Regions from separate parts of the Homo sapiens genome. Here regions 1, 2 and 3 are each linked to region 4. Evidence: promoter capture Hi-C in 16 types of primary human blood cells and fetal thymus (Javierre and others, 2016). All regions are on one chromosome and are shown on one strand. The core of a region is centred on a gene start or on the middle of the fragment in contact, and the rest is flanking DNA. Distances in the headings are between cores, read along the strand shown. Region 1 holds the start of PSD3 (pleckstrin and Sec7 domain containing 3). Region 2 overlaps PSD3 (pleckstrin and Sec7 domain containing 3). Region 3 overlaps PSD3 (pleckstrin and Sec7 domain containing 3). Region 4 holds the start of CSGALNACT1 (chondroitin sulfate N-acetylgalactosaminyltransferase 1).

The links. The method cuts DNA at HindIII sites, captures the fragments that hold promoters and counts their contacts. A CHiCAGO score of 5 or more calls a contact.
Region 1: a contact is called between a fragment that was not itself captured here and the fragment with the promoter of CSGALNACT1 in region 4, in 1 of 17 cell types (fetal thymus). The highest score is 5.9, in fetal thymus.
Region 2: a contact is called between a fragment that was not itself captured here and the fragment with the promoter of CSGALNACT1 in region 4, in 2 of 17 cell types (naive CD4 T cells and non-activated CD4 T cells). The highest score is 7.0, in naive CD4 T cells.
Region 3: a fragment that was not itself captured here is called in contact with the fragment with the promoter of CSGALNACT1 in region 4 in 5 of 17 cell types (naive CD4 T cells, non-activated CD4 T cells, fetal thymus and 2 more); the score reaches 10.9 in naive CD4 T cells.

What each region holds. Positions count from the first base shown.
Region 1 is chr8:19,010,354-19,016,377 of GRCh38, reverse strand. It overlaps PSD3 (pleckstrin and Sec7 domain containing 3), which reads left to right and starts at 2,675. Exons shown (of 16, transcript NM_015310.4): 1 at 2,675-2,815. The coding sequence starts at 2,795. LOC124901898 (a long non-coding RNA gene) reads right to left here and starts at 2,375. Exons shown (of 2, transcript XR_007060840.1): 1 at 2,182-2,375. RefSeq lists silencers at 2,532-2,621, 2,692-2,791. The HindIII fragment of the contact is 2,141 bases long and covers 1,665-3,805 here.
Region 2 is chr8:18,899,644-18,906,361 of GRCh38, reverse strand. The region is part of intron 2 of PSD3 (pleckstrin and Sec7 domain containing 3); the gene reads left to right. Among named protein-coding and RNA genes, the nearest start is that of PSD3, 110 kb to the left of the region's middle. RefSeq lists an enhancer at 1,263-2,086. The HindIII fragment of the contact is 6,209 bases long and covers 2,246-6,718 here.
Region 3 is chr8:18,918,824-18,925,426 of GRCh38, reverse strand. The region is part of intron 2 of PSD3 (pleckstrin and Sec7 domain containing 3); the gene reads left to right. Among named protein-coding and RNA genes, the nearest start is that of PSD3, 92 kb to the left of the region's middle. The HindIII fragment of the contact is 467 bases long and covers 3,493-3,959 here.
Region 4 is chr8:19,755,827-19,758,526 of GRCh38, reverse strand. It overlaps CSGALNACT1 (chondroitin sulfate N-acetylgalactosaminyltransferase 1), which reads left to right and starts at 1,250. Exons shown (of 9, transcript NM_001354483.2): 1 at 1,250-1,341. The HindIII fragment of the contact is 8,664 bases long and covers 1-2,700 here.

The DNA.
Region 1 (6,024 bases), core at 1,486-3,985, 740 kb after region 4:
CTTTTCTTCTTTTGACCTGCAGTATATAATGTCTTGCCTACTATATAGTCTCTCCACACCACATACATTAGGGCTCATGGGAAGAGGTGGGGGAGGAATATGTTATTGGATAAATATACACTAGCCCATGCCTAGGTGGTCTGCGTGCCTCCTTTCTTTTTTTACCAAGGCGGGTGCTTGTGTATTCTGACACTGAACTTGAGCACTGGGGGCTATGGTAGCAGAAATGGGGATTCTTACTTCATTTTTAATATTTCCAAAAGCCTAACAAAATATTTACACACAAAATACATGCTGGCAAAAATGAAATGTCAATGTTTATTTGATTTGCTTTAGGCTTCATTGACTTAGTAGTGGTAACACTGGCTAATTTATGCTGATCAGAACCTCTAACCATTTTATCTTTGATTATTTATAACTGGACGAATGAATGATTATTTAATAGATGTGATCAGCTTTATAAGTACAATCTTAAAATATTTTGGCTTCAGGGATAAAACCAATTAAAAATTTCCTTTGCGATGGAAATTGGAAACACATTTCTGTGGCTTCACTTATGAAATGCTCCTCTATTGAACATTCACTATAGGCCAGGAGCTTTCCTTAATTTATCATGCTAATAACACTTCTGTATGGCATTATTAACCCAATTTTATAAATGAGGAAACAGAGGCTCAGATTATAGATGTCTATGCCCAAGTCCCTTAACTAGAAATATCAAGTAAATCTATGTCCACCCTGCCTCCTATATGATTACTTTTTTTTGTTTGTTTATGAGTTGGTTAATTTCCCAGGTAAAGGCCAGTAGGCCAGTGGTCAAGCCTCAGGGTAGCAACTACATTTTGTACTGGGTCTTACTTTTGATGCTTTGCCAACAAAACCGTCAAGGAAGGCAGGAGTTGACTGGGAATAGGCACACTGGGACTGTCTCTGTAGGGTATGTACGCAAGGGTAAAGGGAGATCACAAACGAGAAATATGCCTGTATTCGTCCATTTTCACACTGCTGATAAAGACACACCGGAGACTGGGCAGTTTACAAATGAAAGAGGTTTATTGGACTTGCAGTTCCACATGGTTGGGAGGCCTCACAATCATGGCGTAAAGCAAGGAGGAGCATGTCACATCTTAAGCGGATGGCAGTAGGCCAAGAGAGAGCTTGTGCAACAAGCGCTCCCATTTTTAAAATCTTCAGATCTCGTGAGACTCATTCACTATGACGAGAACAGCCCAGGAAAGACCCGCCCCCATAATTCAATCACCTCCCACAAGGTTCCTCCCACACACCTGGGAACTGCGGGACTTACAATTCAAGATGAGATTTGGGTGGGGATACAGCCAAACCATATCAATGCCCAAGTGACTGGGGTGCTTCCAAACCTACACAGCTGCTCACACTGCTGCTCTGGCAGGGGGAGCATGAGCTGCGGACGTTTTTCTGAAGTTGGAGTGAATTTGTATAAAGGCATACACTCCCTCATGCTGGCTCCTCTGGTGGGTGTCCAAGGCTTCCTTTGATAGATGCAGATGGGGCAGCCAAGGCAAAGTAGGTGACTTATGTGGCCTTGGTGCATCTCAGCTATGCTCACCGGGCAGCCCATGCTGACATGGTGGGCGAGATCGTGGGGCCACCAGGGAACCTGACTCCACTCCCATCTCTAAGCTTGGCCAAGTCAGTCACTTCTCGTTATTGGGGCGTCTTCTACCTGTCACTTGAAAAAGACTGTTCTTTGGAACAATAAGGCGGTAACACATACACAGGACCACCCTGTAGCCGGCCACACAGGTTCCGCCTCCAGGTGCTTGGATCTACTTAACGGACCTCCCAGGGGGAAAGATTTGCGGTCTCTCCGTCCCTCTACCAGGGGAGGGCGCCGTTCCAGCCCTTGCCTCTGCGGCACAGATCAAAGGACGGAGGAAAAAAGGTGCGGGTCCGGGGCACTAATGTTCGAAAATGCAGTTTTAAGTGACCTCTCCCCGCGCACGCACTGTCGGTGGGGGCAGTCCCGAGGCCAGGCTGCGGGGCGCCTGGGGGGACTCGCCTCAGGGGGAAATGGCCCTTTCAGGGCTCGACGGGTCCCCGGGACTAAACGCTCCGGCCGCGGATCGGTGCCGGGGGAGCCCGGTCAGAGAGGCCGGGACCCCGAGGGACGCCTAGGTGCGTGTCCCGAAGCCCGCGTACCTCCAGCCCCGGCGAGACGGCGCCCAACTCGCGGCTCCAGTCACACGGCCCTTCCTGAGAGGAAACACCAGGGAAAGCACCTCTCACTTTTCTCAGGGTGGGAAAACTGTGAAGGAAGAAGACAAAGCAACAGGCAGGTTTTCGCTCGCGGGCTGGAGGCTGGGCCCAGGGCGGGCGCGCGGCTGCGGGAGGCAGCGGACGGTCCGGGCCGCTCGAGGGCTGCACTGCGAGGGTCTGGATCGCCTCCAGCCTCCCCCGGAGGCCCCGCCCCTGCCCTGGAGACCCCGCCCCCGCCTCGGAGGCCCAGCCACCTCCCCCCTCCCCGAGGCGTCGGCCCCGCCTCTCCGCCCTCCGCCCTCCGCCCCCGGGGCCCGCCACCGCCGGCCCGCCTGCGCCGCCTTCGCTTTGACGTTACTGGGGGCCGGGCGGGCGGCTGCCGCGGGCTCGCAGCCTCGCCAGCCTCCGCCAGGGTGCGCGCGGGCCGCCGCCTCTCGGCAGTCCCGGGAGCTCAACAAAGAGCACGCGGCGCTGGCCGCCGGCACTCGCGCCCTGAGGCTGCGGCCCCGGAGCGCCCGGCGGCGGTTTCGGCGCGCGGCCGGGCTGGCGATGGAAGATGGAAGGAAGGAGCGCAGCGGTGAGCTCCGGGGCCGGGGCGCGGGCGCGGGGTGCGCACGCGGCGCCGCTGTTCGACGTGGGGTTTGTGTTGCTTTGTCGCCGCTCTGTCCCCCAGGATCCCGGGGCCACCTGGGTTTGTGCTGTCTGGATAGGTGCAGGGTGCGATTTTTCTCTTCGCGCTTGCTTGCTTTGTGTTTTTTAGGAGCCCAGCAGGGTCAACTTTGTGGTGTTAAGGTTTAGGGGTTTTAGTTCATACCTCGGCTTTGAAAACCTCAGACTTTGGAGAAAAGCTATCAAAAGAAGGCAACATGAAAGAGGACCTCGTATGCCGATCTTTCTTTGCCCGGTCAGCTTGTATTTAGGGACTATCACGTTTCTGTCAGAAAGAAAGAAAAAAAGACTAAACTAAACAAACTTGAATTGAGCGAGCAAACGGACAAGGGAAGATTATTCGGTGCAATTCCCAGGAGCTTTTACAGATGTTTAAGTCATTCTGTTTTACATGCATTTAACTTTATCCGCCGTTTTCAGCTTTCCGTTCTGGCGAATGATGTTCTGAATTTTTTTTTTAAACACATTAACACCGATTAGAGGACGTGGGTTTAGAATGTTGTTGGTGACCTAAATAATAAATGTTTCGTTTTGCCATTCCCCTCGATGTCAAAGGATGTTAAACGCCCACTAGGCAGAGGATGGAATGGGCACCACGATTTCATTTTCTAGACACTGGTTCTCCCGATAGCGGGATCCAGGATTTCCGCTCCAGAATAACTCTTGAGTGGGTCCAGGTGTTGGTGTAGGGAAGACGGAGATCTGGAAAATTACTGTAAGTGGGATTCTGGCAACAAATGCCTCAATGCGTTCGTTGTAATTGAGTATGTGCAAAGGATTTTGCAAAGCCCGGTAGCTAGGTAAGTAGGATAGGATTTCTGCTTTCAAGAAGCGTGCTTGAGAGCTTGCCTGGGAGAGACTTATGCGTAGGCTACCATGGAGGATCTCAGAGGAAGCTTCTGGCCTCCGGGCTTGGAAGTTCTCAGAGAGGAGCTGGCAGTTATGCTGGACCTTGAAAGGGAGGGGTTGATTGGATTTTTGTGAGATGTGAGGGAAAGGATGTCCCCTGCTAAAGGAAAGGGAATTCACTTTCTACCCTTTTCCAAGAAATGATCCTTTCTTTTCTGAGAGTATTTACAAACCAAGAGGTTTTCTTTTCAAAAAGTCATGAAATTCCTCTTCAGCAGTTAAAAGTGCAACATGCTCAACATCACCAGTTAAGCAAATGCAAAATAAATTAGCACCTTTTCAACCAGTTTTTAGTGGCTGGCTGGATGTCCTTCCACAACCTTTTTATATCCATCCACAAGTGATTTGTCTTGTAAGATATTTCATTAATAGAAGCTTTTTGTACTAAAAGGAGTAGAGTGGTATCAAGAAAGGGACTTGGATCTGTAGGTAGGACACCTAGCTTAGAGGCTTTGCCACTGACTGGGTGAGTTTTTGCCACCGTCTTGGGCAAATTATTTAACTTCTGTCGCTACAGTTTCCTGGTAGGGTGAGGGGATTAGGTAGATGCTCTTTCAGAGCCTTCTAGCCCTACCATTTGATATTTCCATGCCTAGACACGTTTTATGCATTACTTATTCAGTGATGTACTCTTAATTTCACATTCTAAATATCTGTTTGTGTGTTCTGTGAATGGATCAGCACTCTTATCCTGACCATTGAATGTGGGAGAGTGATTAGAGCTACAAAGCTAAAATAACCTTATTACGGCCAAATTCCGTGGTTGAATGTTGTTGTTGTTTTTTTTTTTTTAAATGCGAGCATAAGAAGCTTGATTTGCCAATCTTAATGTGTGTTTTCTTTAAAGAAAGTTTTGTTGACACTGTTCATTTGTGACCAAAGAATAACATATACCTTATTATGTACATTGCACTTAAGCAATTCAATTCTGCTTTTAATCAGATACTAGTAATTTAAAAAATTGAGTAACCTTGGAAATTCTTACAGGCTAGTAAATCTTGGGAATTTGGAAATAAAAAAATAAAGTAAGATGGAAGTAGCTCATTGAAAAAGAAAAATTTAAAGGTACTTTCAGTCAATGGCTCTGCCCTCTTTCTAAAACCTTGATATTTACATATTTGTTTGCCAGCCCTGATGGAAAATTATTTGAGTGGAATTTAGCGTGGCATTACATTGAAAAAACATGTCCATGGTACTACTACTTTTGGAGGTGATTTTTTTTCTTTTATAGAAATTCAGGTGTGATTTGTCATGCATTATTCATAAACTAAGACACCAGTGTGGTGATAGGTTAATTGCAGTCTTGGTTAAGAGATGCTGAGGCAAAACCATGTGAATATTAAAATGTGTATCTGCTTTGGCTTAAAGACTGGTTTGTTTGAGGTTTACATGGGGTAATGTCATTTGGACATTATGAAAAGAGTGTCTTTGGGTTTGGGTTGGATTGGGAGGTGAGTTATGGATAGTGATCGTTTCCAATTTTTGGAAAGGAATTCAGACATGATTGAAGTTGGGTCAGACTGTAAAAAATAATCTGGTGACCAAAGTCTGTGGAGTTTAGTATGTGAATCAGGCTTATAGGAGGCTGGGGATCTAGTGTGACCTTGAATTACTGCTGTTGTGATTCTCACCATTTAGGGGTTCTTCCCGGACCGTCTGGGCCAAGCACAGAGGTCCTTGGCTTCCCTTTGCTAAGAGTGGAAGTGTTTTCACTTTGAATATTGCCTCTCAGTTCTTCCTAGTTCTTTTACAGTTAAACCAGCCTGGCTTTCATTTAGGAGAGTACAGGATCCATGTGAAATTCTCCAGAGCATTTGTTCGGAGTGCCCATATCTTGACAGCTTGTGTTGTTTGTGATATTGTATGCAGACTCAGGGATTTGCTGGAAAGAATTTAAGTGGTGGCATTATTTTTTCAAAGAGTGTTTCTGAGTTACGTTGACCATCTTTCAAGGACATTTTTCACAAGCTCCAAATTAAGTAGTGTTGTAGTGGCTGTTGCAATTTACAATGGAGAAAAAGGATAATTTGCAGCATATAGTTAACAAGTTATTCTTAAATCCAAATTACCAAATGTCCATGCCTCATTTGAAAATAAGGCATAACTCAACATTAATAATGAATCTTTGCGTGTGCTATCTTATTTATATAAAAACAGTGCATGTCCCTGCAGTGCTTGTTTGCTCTACCAAAAGAAAGGTTTTTCACT
Region 2 (6,718 bases), core at 4,101-6,600, 860 kb after region 4:
CTTATTAGTGCATTGAAATTTCTTTGAATGTCTTGTGTTAAAAGGAAAATTTATTAGGTGAGTTACAGCTGTGAGTAGCTAATATGAGACCCTTTCAGGCAGGGTTTCTTAACTTTAGGGGATCTGGAGCACCCAGATATTTGATGAAAAATTCGTATAAATGTTTATCTGATATTTTTTGTCAGGAGAGGGTCTGTAGCTTTCTCAAGGATGTCTTTCTCAAAGAAAACCACTTTTCTGAGACTTAAAGAACAGAAAAATCAGTGTATTATATTTTTGCCGGTCTTTCAGATACAACTGTTATCCTAGTTCAATCACACTAATATGATGTTTACTATAAAATAATCTCTTCTAAGTAGTTCAGTTACTGAATATATATTGTTATAATTGTTTTTGCAAAGCGTATCTCATTCTAGAAAGATCAAAGAACCAATTTATACTTTGTTTCTTTTTTCATCTTGAAAAATGATATATTTACTGTAAAGAGACCACTTGCTTTAATCTTAGTAAGTATAGGGAGTGGTAAAAATTATTTTAGGCCTATATTCGTGAATTATTTGTATGTTAATATCATCCAGTAAAAAATAATGAATACCTTTTGACTTCAGAATACTATGATAGGTATTTAGGATCTAGAAAATGTAAGATAAAAAGTAAGTAGGGAAGACAGTATGAAATTATGAAAATATAAGGACGCATAGAAAAGTATAGGCAATATATGTTTTCAGAATAAAAGAAGAGGCCGGGTGTGGTGGCTCACGCCTATAATCCCAGCACTTTGGGAGGCCGAGGTGGGTGGATCACCTGAGGTCAGGAGTTCGAGACCAGCCTGACCAATATGGTGAAACCCCGTCTATTAAAAATACAAAAATTATCCGGGAATGGTGGTGTGCACCTGTAGTCCCAGCTACTCAGGTGGCTGAGACAGGAGAATTGCTTGAACCTGGGAGGTGGAGGTTACAGTGAGCTGAGATCGCGCCACTGCACTCCAGCCTGGGCAACAGAGCAAGACTCCGTCTCAAACAAAAGAAGAAAAGGAGAGGAGAAGTCACTGAGAGTTGGTGAGGCATGGAGAGCTTCATTGAGAGCTCAGGTTATGAAAGATGAGTAGGACAAAATTAGAGAGGGGGAAATAATTTAATAAGCAAAAGTGCAGAGGTGATCATGTAACTTAGGGGGGATGCTGAGTTGACCAATGGAGAGGCAGCTTTTTGTAATGGTTAACAGCTTGGATTCTTCATCCAGCTTCTAGTCCTGGCTATAAGCTACTTAAAACACTCTCGCCTCAGTTTTTTAATTTGCAAAGCTAGTACCTTTCTTATAATTTAATATGGTATGTATTTGCTATATTTTAAAAGAAAAACCTAATACACAGTGCCAGCAAGATAGCAGTAGGGAAATAAGGTGGGGAGTTAGTAGCCAGATTGCAAAAGTTCTTGAATAACAAGTTAAAGGAAAGATTGGCAAACTATGGCCCTTGGGCTAAATCCTATTCCTCTCTTGTCTTTCTAGATCACATTTTATTGGAAAACAGTCTTATGTTAATTTACTATTGTCTGTGGTTGTTTTGGTTGCAATGGCAAAGTTGCGTGTTTATGTAGAGACCTTATGGCCCAGAAAGGTTAAGGTATTTACTGTCTGGTCCTTTACAGAAAAAAATTTGCTGACCTTGAGTAAACAATTACAGCTGTAACATAATTACAGAAGATGTACTTAAAATTTTTATTTTGTTTTGTTATTTACTTCCAAGATACAATGGTAGTACAGGTATTGGGTACACATTACCATTTCAAAAGGGAGAGATCAGCCAAAAGAAAGGGGTAGTAGGCCCCACACAAGTCTGAAACCCAGCAGGGAAGACATTAAACCTTGAAGTTCCAACATAGTCCTTGACGCCATGTCTTGTATCCTGGGTACACTGGTACAAAGGGTGATCCGCTGAAGCCTTGGGCAGCCCCATCTTCATGGCTTTCTTGGGCACAGCCTGGGTTGGAGTGCAATGCCTGCAGCTTTTCTGAAGTTCAGAGTGCACACTGGCAGTGGCTGTACAATCCTGGGGTCTATAAGGTTGATCCCTCATGAGTGGCTTGGTGCCTCCCTGAGGTAATGAGTAGTTCTCACTCTGTTAGTTTATATAAGACCTAGTTGTTTAAAAGAGCCTAGCACCTCCTTCTCTCTCTCTTGTTCCCTCTCTCACCTTGTGACATGCCTGCTATCCCTTTGCCATGTACCATGAGTAAAAGCTTCCTGAGGTCCTGACCAGAAGCAAATGCTGGCACTATGCTTCCTGTACAGCCTGCAGAACTGTGAGCCAACTAAACCTCTTTTCTTTATAAATTACTCAGTTTCGGGTGTTCCTTTATAGCACTGCAAAACAGAATCATACACTTCCCCAGGCAGAAGTAGAGCCACATCACCTACCCCTCTCCCCGCCTTCTTGGGCTGAGCTGAAGTGGTGCCCTTTCTCCTGGGGAAACAGTACTTTGGCTACTCGGAGAAGTCACACCTTCCCTCAGCCTAAGTTGGAGGGTGCCACATGTCCCCAAAACGGTGCCTTGGCCCCCCAGAAAGGTCCTATATCCTAGTACCTAAGCTGAAGCAGCAGCCTGCATCCTAGGGAAACTGTGCCTGGGCCATCCAGAACAGTCAAGGCCCCCAGGCCTGAGCTGAAGGAGCACATTGGTCCCTGGGGTATCAGTGCCCTGGCTGAGCTAAGTAGCTACACATCCCTGGGCTGAACTGACATAGCACCCCATATAACAGGGAAGTAGAACAGTGGCTTAGCTGAGACACACTGGCCTATAGACCAAACAGCTCTTGTATCCTGCTTCCGTGGAGCTGGTCTAGGCCCTAGAGTCTGAGCTGTTGGGACACATCTGTTCTTGAGGAATGGAATCATCAATGTGCTATTTCCTGACCCCACACTCTTCACCCCACCATGCTGCAAAAAACAGCTATTCTTTGCCATTCCCAGGTACTTGCTGCCACTGCACCTGGCCTCACAGAGGCTCAGATGCTGACGATCACTGCCAACCCAGGGTCTAGAGTCACTACCACAAGGTGACTCATTCCCTGGGACCCGAGTTGCCGTTCGGGTCAAGTTCCCAAATCGCAGTCATACCTTGCACCTTGAGCCTAAACCTTCAGAGTATCACTTTCCTGGAGTTGGGTGAGTGCTTCACTGTATACCCTAAAAGTAAAATCACAGCTACAACCTGGCCCCCTGAGCCTGAGCTGCTAGGGAGTAGCTCTGAGTCACAGATCCTGGTTCCGGGGGCAACTTACATCCAATCCTTTCACAGACAGCAAGTTCGCACTCCAAGATGCAGGTGCCACAGGAGGTTCACAAGATTCTGAGCCTAGGACCCTGGCCCCACAGCCACTCCAAGCAACTCAGTGCTGTTACAGCCACTTGTAGGCCATGTCAGACCTGACACCTAGAGAAATCCCCTCATCTAAGTCTCCCCATTGTGTGGAAAATGAGAATAGGAGGACTGAAGACATTAGCAGCCTATGCCACTGTCACCACTGCCACGAACATCTACAACATACGCCACTGAGGCACCCACAGTTATTGCTGACATTGAATGCAGATGAAGAGTCTGCACAGAGACTCTACTACTGCACCTGTCTGGAAACAGTTACCACATTCTTTCCAACCAGCACAGTAAAACCCTACTGAAGGTCAAAGTCTTTCTGTACAAAAGCCAGTCTAGTAAGTTTGGAAGAGGCTACCGTTCCACCAGACATCAACACACAGATATCTGCCACACAGACATCAACACAGGGAGACAAGACATGAAAAGGCAAGGAAATATGACACCACTAAAGAAACATAATAACTCTGTAATAACAGACCTCAGTGAAAAAGAATTCAATGACTTGGTGGAATATGAATTCAAAGTAATAATTTTATGGTAACTCAGTGAAAAACAGAAAAGAGAGACAATTTAATGAAGTCAGGAAAACAATTCACCATGTGAATGAGAAATTCAGCAAAGAGAGAGAAATTATAAAAAAGAATTAAATAAAAATCCTGTATTTGAAGAATTCAATCAGTGAAATAAAAAAATACAGCAGAGACCTTCAATAGAAGACTTGATCAAGCGTAAGAATCTCTGAAGTGAAGAAAGCCTATAAGACTTGTGGGACACCATTAAGTAAATAAATATTTGTGTTATGGGATTTGCAGAAGGAAAACAGAAAGAAAAAAGCATAGAAAGCATATTTAATGAAATAATAACTGAAAACTTCCCAAGTTTGGGGAGAGATATGGACATCTAGAGCCAGGAATCTCAAAAGTCTCCAAATAAATTCCACCCAAAAAGGTCTTTTTTTTTCTTTTTTCTTTTTTGCCTGAGGCACATTTATGTCAAATTGACACAAGTCAAGGACAAAGAGGAAATTCTAAAAACAGAAAAAGAGGAGAGTCAAATCACATCTAAGGGACTCTCCATTAGACTAATAGCACATTTCTCTGCAGAAACCTTACAGGCTAGGAGAGAATGGGCTGATACATAGTCAAAGAGCTGAAAGAGAAATACTGCCAGCCAGGAATACTATGCCCAGCAAAGCTATCCTTTAGAGATGAGGGAGAAATAAAGTATTTCCCAGACAAACAAAAACTGAGAGAATTCATTACCACTAGGCCAACCTTACAAAAAGTGCTCAAGGGAGTCCTGCATCTGGAAGTGAAAAGATGAAAATCACTATCATGAAAACAGGCAAAATTATAAAACTCACTGGTGGAGCAGATACACAAAGGAGAAAGAGGAAAGAATCAAGACTTAGGCTACAGAAAACCACCAAACTGCAATGATAGAAAAAGAGGAAGAAAGGAACGAAAGGAGGAAGAAAGGAACAAAGGATATACAAACAACTTCAAAAACAAATTAACAAAATAACAAGAGTGTGTTCTCGCCTATCAATAATACCCTTGAATGTCAATGGATTAAATTCTCCACTTAAAAGATATAGACTGGCTAAATGGATGAAAAAACATGACCCAGCTCTATGCTGCCTACAAGAAACTCACTTTACCTGTTGACTATTAACAACACAGGTTTTGACCTGCACAGGTCCACTTATATTCAAATATTTTAAACAATAAATATGTTGTTTAATTTTTTGGGAGATTTGCAACAATTTGAGAAAACTTGCAGACAAACCATGTAGACTAGAAATACTGGAAAAATGAACAAGAGTTGTGACATGAATTCATAAAATATATGTAGATACTAGTTTAATCATTTATTACCATGAAATAGAAACACATCTACTTTAAAAAGTTAAAGTTTATCAAAACTTATATACACCAGACTGTACATGGTGCCATTTGCAGTCCCGAGAAATGTAAAGAAACATAAAGATGCAGTATTAAATCATAACTGCATACAATTAACTGTAGTACATACTGTACTATATAATAATGTTGAAGCCACCTGTTGTTGCTATTGCAATGAGCTTGAGTGTTGTATCTGCTTAAAACACTGTGTGATGCTAACAGCTCCATGTGAACCATTCATCTGTCCAGTAAATTATGTGTTGTATTAAAAAGTGATCTCCATGTTGGTGCACACCTGTAGTCTCAGCTACTTGGGAGGCTGAGGTGTCAGGATGTCTTGAGCCCAGGAGTTTGAGCTATGATTGTGTCACTGCATTCCAGCTTGAGTGACAGAGCAAGACCCTGTCTCCCAAAAAAAAAAAAAAAAAAAAAAAGAGTTGTCTCTCATGGTTTTTGTGTATTTTTCATCATGTTTAGTTCACTACTATAAACCTTAATAACACCGTGGAACCCATACAAAGTACCACTAGTGATGCTGGAAGTGCTCCCAAGAAGCAGGGAAAATTCATGATGTTATAAGAAGGGTGAATTGCTTGATATGTACCAAATGGATTGAGGTCTGCAGCTGTGGTCACCTGCCATTTCAAGATAAAAGAATCCAGCAGTGTAAGTACCGTTGTAAGAAAAGAAAAGGAAATTTGTTGTCACTGCAGCTCCCTCAGTAGGCACAAAACCTTGAACTTTTTTATATTGAAAATGTAGCTGTTATGTGGATGCAGGATACCTATAAGAAAATCATGCCTATAGACTCTACAATGATTTAAGAAAAAATGAGGTTAGTGTATGACAACTTAAAGCAAAAGGAAGGTGTTAGATCTAAACTTGGAGAATGTAATGCCAGCAAAAGATGGTTCGATAATTTTAGAAAGAGATTTGCCTTAAAAAATGTCAAGATAACAGGAGAAGCAGCAGACAGCCAAGAAGCAGTAGACAAGTTCCCAGACACCATTAAGAAAATCATTGAGAAGAATGGATATCTGCCTGGCAGGTTTCTTTCTTTTTTTTCTTGTAGAAAAAAAGTGCCCCCTTTCTGGAAAACAGTTCCACAAAGGACATTTATTAGTAAGGAAGGGAAGTGAGTACGAGGATTTAAGGCAGGAAGGGATAGGCCAACTGTATTGTTTTATGCAAATACAGTTGGATTTATGATGAGGAATGCCCTTGTCTATAAATTTCTAACCCCTGAGCCTTGAATAGAAAAGATAAACACAGATACCAATCTTTGGGTTATATAACAAGAAGACCTGAACAACAAGAACTCTTCTGCTGGATTGGTTCCATCAGTGCTTTGTCCCTAAGTTCAGGAAGTACCTTGCCAGTAAGGGACTGCCTTTTAAAGTTCTTTTGATATAGGACAATACCCTTAGCCACCCA
Region 3 (6,603 bases), core at 2,477-4,976, 840 kb after region 4:
ATGTATATGTGTGTGTGTGTATATATATATATATATACTTTTAGAGATAGTTGCCTGGAAGTGTGGTAGCACAATCATAGCATAGCTCACTGCAGCCTTGAACTCCTGGGCTCAAGTGAGCCTCCCACCTCAGCCTCTTGAGTAGCTGAAACCACAGGTGTACGCCACCATGCCCGGCTGACTTTTGTATTTTTAAATGTTTTGTAGAGATGGGGTTTGGCTGTGCTGCCCCGGCAGGTCTCAAACTCCTGGCCACAGGGCCCAGCTGTGTTTTTTAATTGGCTTATTTGTCTGTTTATGATTGAGTTGAAAGCACTCTTTCTATAATCTGTATACAAGCCCCTTCTTAATTGTATGACTCTGGATACTGTCTTCTATTGTATTCGTTATGTTTTCACTTTCTTCATAGTCATCATTTATAGTACAAAAGGTTTTAATTTTGGTGAAGTCCAGTTATCTATATCTCTTATTTTGTTGCTTGTACTTCCCATGTCATGTCTTAGAAACCATTGCCTAAGTGAAGAAAACTTAGTCCTGTATTTCCTTCCATGTTTTATAGTTGTAACTCTTACCTTTATGTCTGTGGCCCATTTTGAGTTAGTTATTTTTTCTTTTTAGTGCAAAGAAGAAGCTGAATAATTCTGAATAACAGATAGAATGTGTTGGGTGAATGTTGAGCGTCTGCTTTAGGTAGACGCCTCACCATACACACGGAATTCCTGGAGAGCAAGACAAGAAAAAAGTAGCATGGCAGCTCAGCCCCTACTCATGCCTATTCAGATCTTTGCATCTGGCTGCAGGACCCAGGAAACCTACGAGTTATTGCTTTAGGAAAAATGTGGGCTGGGATAGAATACCACAAATAAACAAAGGAAGAAATGACAAATCTGCTAATTCTCAGGTTTTCTGTTGATTTATTTTCTTGTTTTCACCACGGATAGAAGTTGGTTTATAATTTTGTGGCTAGTCCTTTAGAAAATCTTCTATGTTTGGCCATTTTTATTTATTTTGCTCCTTTCTTTCCACTCTCCAGCCTCCTTCCCACCCATTATGGAAAGCAGAAAAATGATTTTACAGTATAATAACAAGTATGTGTTAGACTTGCTCACTATTCCTTGGCCGTTATTAAACTGACCATATGTTCTCCATTATTTTAGCTGTACCACAGCCTCTGCTTGATACGCAGTAGTTTCCAATGGTCTGTTTTGGCTTGACAAAGTGGGCCAGGAAGTGACTATAACTTTCTCTTTGGCTAGGGTTTTTGGTATAGTAAGTTAGAGGTTCCACCTTATTCCACACTGGCCCACGTATCTGTAGAATGGGCTGTATGCTGGTAGCCTTAACTACTTCTTTGGAATTACTTGGTGTTTTATATACTAAGATAACTAAGAAGTGTTGCAGAAATCAACCAGGAGAGCATACTGAAAAGCATATTTCTACTGTCTGTTCAGTGTTTTTGTCTACAAGATCTATTTTTTTAGATTGGTGTTTAATATATGTATATATATATAAAACACACACATATATGTATATATATATATTTAAAGTAGCTGTTGAAAAGCTGAGGAGCAGGATTTGACTTTTTTGAGAGTAGGATCAAATCAGCTTTGGAACAGCAGTGGACATCACATCTAACACTGTGAAGTATATACAGCCATGTGTCATCTAAAGAAAGGGACACATTCTGAGAAATGTGTCATAAAGCGATTTCATCTTTGTGCAAACATCATAAAATGTACTTACGCAAACCTAGATAGTATACCTACTGCACACCTAGGCTCTATGGCTTAGCCTGTTTTTTCTAGGCCACGAACCTACACAGCATATTACTGTATTGAATACTGTGGGCAATTGTAACACAGTGGTCTTTGTATGTCTAAACATAGAAAAGGTACAGTGAAAATATGGCATTATAATCTTATGGATCAGCGTCCTATATGTGGTCATTGGTGAGCCAGATGTCATTATGTGGCACATGACTATATTTGGTCTTCCCTCTGAGTTTCCTCTTAAAATTTCTAGGATTTTCAAAGTGGTATGTCTTTTTGTATGCTAATGAATTAACTGATGCCTGGCAACCCTTATGTGGCTTTAGAATGGGGCTACCTTGTCCAAGCTTAGAGCAAGCTTATGCAACCCACAGCCCATGGGCCACATGCAGCCCAGGACAGCTTTGAATGTGGCACAACACAAATTTTTAAACTTTCTTAAAACATTATGAGGTTTTTTTTTCAAAGCTCATCAGCTGTTGGTAGTGTTAGTGTATTTTATCTGTGGCCCAAGACAGTTCTTCCAGTGTGGCCCAGGGAAGCCAAGAGATTGGACACCCCTGGATTAGAGGGTTGAGACTTTCAGTCCCATCCCCTAACCTCTGGGGAGGGGAGAGGGGTGAAGTTTAAGGAAATCACCAATAGCCAATGATTGAGTGAATCATGCTTACTAATGAGGCCTCCATAAAAACCCAAAAGGACAGGGTTTGCAGAGCTCCCTGAAAGACGAACACATGGAGGTTCCAGGACGGCGGTGTGTCCAGAGAGGGCATGGAACTCTCTGCCCCCTCCCACATGCCTTGCCCCATGCATCCCTTTATCTGTATCCTTTGTAACAGCCTTTATCAGAAGTTGGTAAACATAAGTGGTTCCCTGTGTTCTGTGAGCTGATTTAGCAGATTAATCGAACCCAAGGAGGGGGCTGTGAGAATCCTGATTTATAGCCAGTCAGAAGCGCAGGTGAAACAACCTACGGCTTTAGATGGGCATCTGAAGGGAAGGGGCAGTCTTGGAGACTGAGTCCCCAACCCGTGGGATCTAATACTGTCTCGAGTTAGATAGTATTGCAGTTGAATTGAATTACAGGACACCCAGGTGGTGTATCCTGCAGAATTGATTGCTTGCTCGGTTTGTGGGGAAAACATTTGGTCACAGAAGTCTTCTGTGTAGGTTGAGTGAGAGAATAGGAAAAGCACTTCCGTTTAGTTTATTCCTGTGTTCTCAGAATGTCATAATTAGAACTGAGAACTTTAATCTCCACAGACTTGCTGCACCAGATGTAATTGAGGTCAAACTTTTTTCATGTGCTTATTAGCCATTTATGATTCATTTTGAAAGATTTTCCTGTTCACGAGTTTTATATTGGAGAGCTTGCCTTTTATTGACTTACAGAACTCTTTGGGTTCCGTTAGGACGTGTTAGAGTAAACTTTAGGTCCTTGAGATGTTGCAGAATCCCTGAACAAACCGTTTTTTCATTGTCAGGTGTATGAACTGACTCACAAAGTATGTTTTTAGCAGTCTCCCTTCATGGATCCTTGAATAAACTATCTACTCTTCAGTTTTATTTTTAGGTAGGAAATATCTTTTCCCTTCTATAAAGCAGAAGTGACATACTGGCATTTTTAACTTATGATTTATTTGGTCTAACCAATGTTTTATTAAAATATTGAGCTAACTTTTAAAAACTGGGAGATTTCATGTAAAAATCCAGACTTGAAGCTTCTGTTGCTGAATTTGAGGAATGCCAACACTGAGTGTGCCTTGGCATTGACATGAAATAGTGCTGGTGCCTTCAGAGCACAGGTACTTGGTCACCACTCCCTCCTGTGTTCTCATACCTTGCCTGCCTTACTCATTTATATTATCTCCTGAAGCCCGTGAACACTGGGCTTATGGCCTCTGCATACATAGTGTATGACTTTATACTTTTGCCCATGTGTTCCAGTTGTGAGTTTCATTATGTCACACTTTGCAACCCCAAGTAGCATCCAGAGATGGATTTTCTATGAAGCCAATGCAGGAAGCATTCCCAAGGCTCCCAGAAACCTGCCATTTTTTTGTTCTTTTTCTTAAAGAGACTCCCCGTGACCACCTGCCCAGTTGTGTGTAGGTTTCAGGACCCACAAAACTAGATCTGCCTCTGCCAGCATGAGGATCTCCTGTAGACCTTTTAAGAAATAATAAAGCTTCCTAGGCTCTACTTAACCCATGCCTATGCAGTTAGAATCTGTGGGCAAGGGATGACCCAAGCATCTCTACATTTTAAGCATCTCCCCTAGTGTTTGTTGTCATGCACATACAGGCTCGAGAACCATTGTGTTTTAAAAGATAATTTACTTGAGATGTTTATAAACCATTTTAACACTAAAAGGATGCATTTTGGAATCATTTAATACATTTAAACTGTAGTTTGATATATTTTACTGACATGCAGAGCTGAACTGCTTAGGAACCACTGCCAATTGAATACTAATAGTGAGAAGATAATTCTGAAATTGAAATATGTCAACAGGAAAATGCAATTTGATTGTTAAAAAAAGTAGTTTACATTTGTTTTTTCAAGGATTTCTGAAGAAGGTTTCTCATATCTGTGAAACTGTCATTCCATTCATGTAGAATTTCACCAGCAATTTCTGTTATGGTAGAATTTATGTAAATATTTGCTTTTGAAAATATTATAAGTATAGGTAGAATCACGCAGAGATTCTGGAGTCACTATCATGTATGATAGTGTCACAAGGGAAAATAATACTATAGCCTGACACAGGTACCTCTATTCATATTGTTTGGGGAGGTTGAATGGTTGGGTATATTTTTAGTTATCACAGTGATTGGGGATGGAGGGCTAGGTGGCTACTAGCCTTTAATAGGTGGTGATGAGGCATGCTAGACAAGTTTTAGTCCCTGGGATAGTACCACACCAGGAAGAACTATTCTACATTCTGTATGGCCTCGAATGTCCTGTTGGACATTCATGTAGGAGAAAAATATGTTTCTAATGATCCGGCCTTAGGATATGTCAATAAAAGGTTTTTTACTTAAATGGTTTTAAGTATCAGTGAGTTTTCTAGGACTGTAACTACCATGTAAATCGAGAGAAGATTATACTTTGTTTTGTTTGCAAATTTACTAAAAGTTGTTTACTATTTCAAAGTATCACATCCAAGAAAGCAGCGCTCATGCTCCCGCATCACCATTTCAATACCGCTGTATCTGTCCACACTCGAACCTTGCTTTCAGCATGATTCTCCTTTAGGTACAAGCAAGTGTCTGACTAACCTGAGCATTTATGTAATGAAAATCATTTTAATTTTATTTCCCCTTTGTGATATTTAGGGCATTATATGGATTATTTTGAATTTTATATTTAGGCAGTTATATTGTTGATGGATTTCACTGTAGGATAATAAAGAAGGCATTGCAAAATGTTACGAAAAGGTATTTTTGCCCTTAAAGAGTTGAGAATTGCTGTTTTAAAGCGATGGTTCCTAAGCATCAGGGCACATTAGATTGTCCTGTAGAAGTTTTGGAAATGATCATTGTGAACCTGCCCTAGAAATACTAATTTAGTAGTTCTCTAGGAAATTCTAGAAACTCCATGAAACTTTTTTTTTTTTGTGATTGTTTTTTTTTTTTTTAATTTATTTATTTTTTTATTATACTTTAAGTTTTAGGGTACATGTGCACATTGTGCAGGTTAGTTACACATGTATACATGTGCCGTGCTGGTGCGCTGCACCCACTAACTCGTCATCTAGCATTAGGTATATCTCCCAATGCTATCCCTCCCCCCTCCCCCCACCCCACCACAGTCCCCAGAGTGTGATGTTCCCCTTCCTGTGTCCATGTGATCTCATTGTTCAATTCCCATCTATGAGTGAGAATATGCGGTGTTTGGTTTTTTATTATTGCGATAGTTTACTGAGAATGATGATTTCCAATTTCATCCATGTCCCTACAAATGGCGCACATAGAAAATTACACTCTTTGTATTGCGCAGGGAAGTGAAGGAAAGCAGTGGTCTTGGGCTGCAGGTGACAGTTTCTGGGGATCCTGGCCGCCCCAGTCCTGCCCCGCCCCACCTTGCAAGCCAACGATCTGTTTCCACCTTGGATGCTTTCCATGCTTGTTAAAAATTCAGATTCTTGAACCTCACTCCAGTAATTCTGATTCTGTTTGACTCAGAAATCTAGTATTGAATGAGCTCTCGGATGATCCCGATTCAGGTAGTCCTTGGATGGCTGCTTGAGCAATCCTGTTCTCACGGGTCAGGGGCAATAACTGTGTGGTGTGTGAAAAAGAAAGAGAAAAAGGAAAGGTGGGGCTCCTTTCTAAGGGTGTGTGAGGTAATGCTAAGAGATTTCTGAGATAAAGCAGAGATACGAAACTCCTTCCTGGCTGGCGTTTCTCTATCAAGGAGTACAGTCAGCTTGTTTGAAAGGGTAGAACAAACACTGCTAGAAGAAGCTGAAGCCCCGGAAGAGATCACCTGGCTCCTTTTGTATGAATTTAAACTCTGAGGCATAATATCCTAAGAAACTGAGCATATTTGCAGGTAAATTATATATCCACTCTAGATATTCTTTGAAAATCATGAAGATAGGGACTAGTGCTTAAAAAAAAGAATCCAAGAGGCAAAACCTTAATCTGTAGAAAGGAGAATTAAGGAAATTGTAGAGCCTGGTGAGTTTCAGGGCGGTCTTTAGCCAAGCTTTAGAGGATTATTAAAAATATTGCAAGACCAGATAGTCTTCCCCGGGTCTGAACTGGCACTTATGAATGACGACTGAATGGTGGGAACCAGGGAAAGGGGCACGGTACAGGTACAGTGC
Region 4 (2,700 bases), core at 1-2,500:
ACGAGGGTGAAGAGTTCACTCAGGGTGTGGGGTGGGGATAGGTCCACCTGGGGAGTCCAGGTGGGAAGCAAAACTTGCTTCAGGGATGCTTCCTGCAGGTAAGCAGGAGCTTAATGGAAACCGAGCTGCTTCAAGACTGTGCCTATAGCCTCAGGACTGCCTACCCTGTGCCCACAATAAAGTCTGGTGCGCCGGAATCTCCCAGATGGAGACTCTGAGCCAGGCAGTAGAAGGAGCCATGGCCAGGTAGTAGAAAGAGCACTGCCTCAGGAGTCATAGGACTGGTTTCCAGCTCCGGTTCTGCGGTGGCTCAGCCCTGGGGCCTCTGCAAGTTGCTTAACCGCATCTGCAGGTGATGACCTCTTCCAGTCTAACTGACTCCTCCTGAGTCCCCCTCAATTACACTGAAAATTGGCGATCCTATTTCCCAACTCCCTCTCCCACAGAGATGCGCTGGAGCACTTACAGATAAAAGGCGACCTGTGGCCCTGGAGGGTGCCTGCCTGTGTGTGCTGGAGGTGGCGGTGGATCTTTTATTACCCAACACTCCACTTGCCTTTTTAGCCTTTCCTCTCCCTCTTCTCTCCTGGCCTCCCAGTGGCCGTCAGGGGTCCCTGCAGACATCGCTTACCCACAGTGGTGCGGTGTGAGAGTTACAGGGGTTCCTGACCTTCGCTGTAAGTAAAAGCTCTCTAGGGGAGGCGTTATAGCTGACCAGGGCAGCAGAGACCGCGACTAAAGCGTGAATTCCCCGAAGTGCGATTTACAAAGTTTTTGCATGGAAGTCGGCGCTCGGCGGGGAGGGCAGCCAAGGGAACAGAGCGGGTGGAGCAGGGGGATGGGGAACTCTGTCCTGCAAGAGTAAGGACCCCATGGAGATTGGACACCTCTCTCCTGCAACTCGGGCCACGCCACAGTGTCCTAGTCTCTAAACTTCTCCGGCTCTTGGTGTCCAGTCACGCGTAAACCGCCCCTGGTGTCCGAGCGCGGCCCCTTCCGAGAGTGACAGGCTTCGGCCAGGGCGCCGCTCCGACGGGCGCAGGGACGCACTGCAGAGAGGCCGTGGGTGACGCGGAGGTACGCGGCCAACCGCGACCCCAGCCCGGCCTTGGCCGCCCCCGCCGGACCTACCCTGCGGCGGGGCGCCAGGCTTGGCCGCTGTTGCGCCCGCCCGCCCGAGCCGCCGCCGCCGCCGCTGCTCCCCGCCCCCGGGGTCCCTGGAGGCTCCGCGGCTGCCGGAGCGGGAGGTGGAGCCGAGTCCGCGGCGGCCGCGCAGGAGGGAAAGTTCAGCGACGGCGGCAGCGGCCGGAGCCGGGCCGGGCAGCTAGCAGGGCGCTTCGGGTGAGTCGGGTCCCCTCCCGGGCCAGCCGGGCGCGGTGTGCCGCGCGGGGGCGTCAGTGGCGCCGGCAGATCCCCACAGCCCCGCGCGCCTAGCTCGCGCCCGCCCACCCCGCGACCTCGGGGTGGCTCGTGCAGCTGCGGAGGACGGTGCCGCGCCTGGCCTCCCTCCGCCGCTGCCCGCCGGGGGCCCAGGGCACGGGCAGGGGCCGGGGACCGGCTTGGCAGGCGGAGGGCGCGGCGCCTCCAGGTGGGCGCGCGGGGACGCGGAGGGAGCTTCCAGGGAGGGTCCGGGGCCGCTGCGCTCCCGGGGTCGGTTTGGCTTCACCAGCGTTTCTCGTGGCCTTCCGCTGTCTGATTGCTTTCTGCAAAACCCACTGAAAAGTAGCCTTTCCACGTGCCGCGCGATGACTGCGGTTATTGTATTATTGTGGCTGGGATGGAGAGGGTGGAGGGGGCGTGACGAGGGTGGCCGGTGGGCAGCGCGCTCGCCTGCCCGGGACCGGGCTAGTGGGGGATGTGGCTGAGGGTCACCGCTGCCCGAACATGCCCAGGGGACGTGCGATCGGTGGGCAGAAGCTGTTCGAGGGCATGATCTTGGGGTGGGATGGGGGCTAGAAGGGCGGGGAGGAGAGGAAAGCTGTAGGAAGCGGAGGCAAAGTTGTTTGTTTCCGTCGCACTTCCTGCACCTGCATTCCTGTCAGAGATTTTGAAGTTATCTTTTCATCGATGAGCAAAGAATGGTGAGAAAGGAAGAGATGTTAACAGCACTGTGCCTGCCAAAACAGTGAGCCTCGGGAAATACTCATAAGTGAAATACTAATAAAAAGCATGGAGTGGTTAAATTTCACAAACTCCACTTTTCTTCTGGTTTCAAAGCCTTGGTGCAGTTTTTACTTAACGTCATTAGATACGTCTAGATAATAAAGGTAATGAAGTGTTCTTTCACGGTTTTTTTTTTTAAACTGGAAATTTAAATTTAATTCTGTAGGATTTCGTCGACATTGTTCCTACAAGAAAGTCAAATTACCTTGGTGTTACTTGCAACAGTGAGCATTAATAAGCCCTGTGCAGTGCTGAAATGTTGCTAATTGGAGGGAGAAAGGTCCTTCAAACTTGGAAATAGACGCAGAAAGGCAAGATGAATTTTTATGTAAGCCTTAGGCATAAAAGGCGACTTGAACACGTTTTGTAATAGTGCATAATACACAGGGGACTAGGTGTTGGGCTGCCGGAAGATGGTCAATTCCTAGAAAGCAAGAGACGGGCCATACCCATTGTAAGATCACCGTACATATTTAATAATTCGTCTGCCTTGAGCTGCCACACCATATGTACTCCACATAATACAATATCAAAATA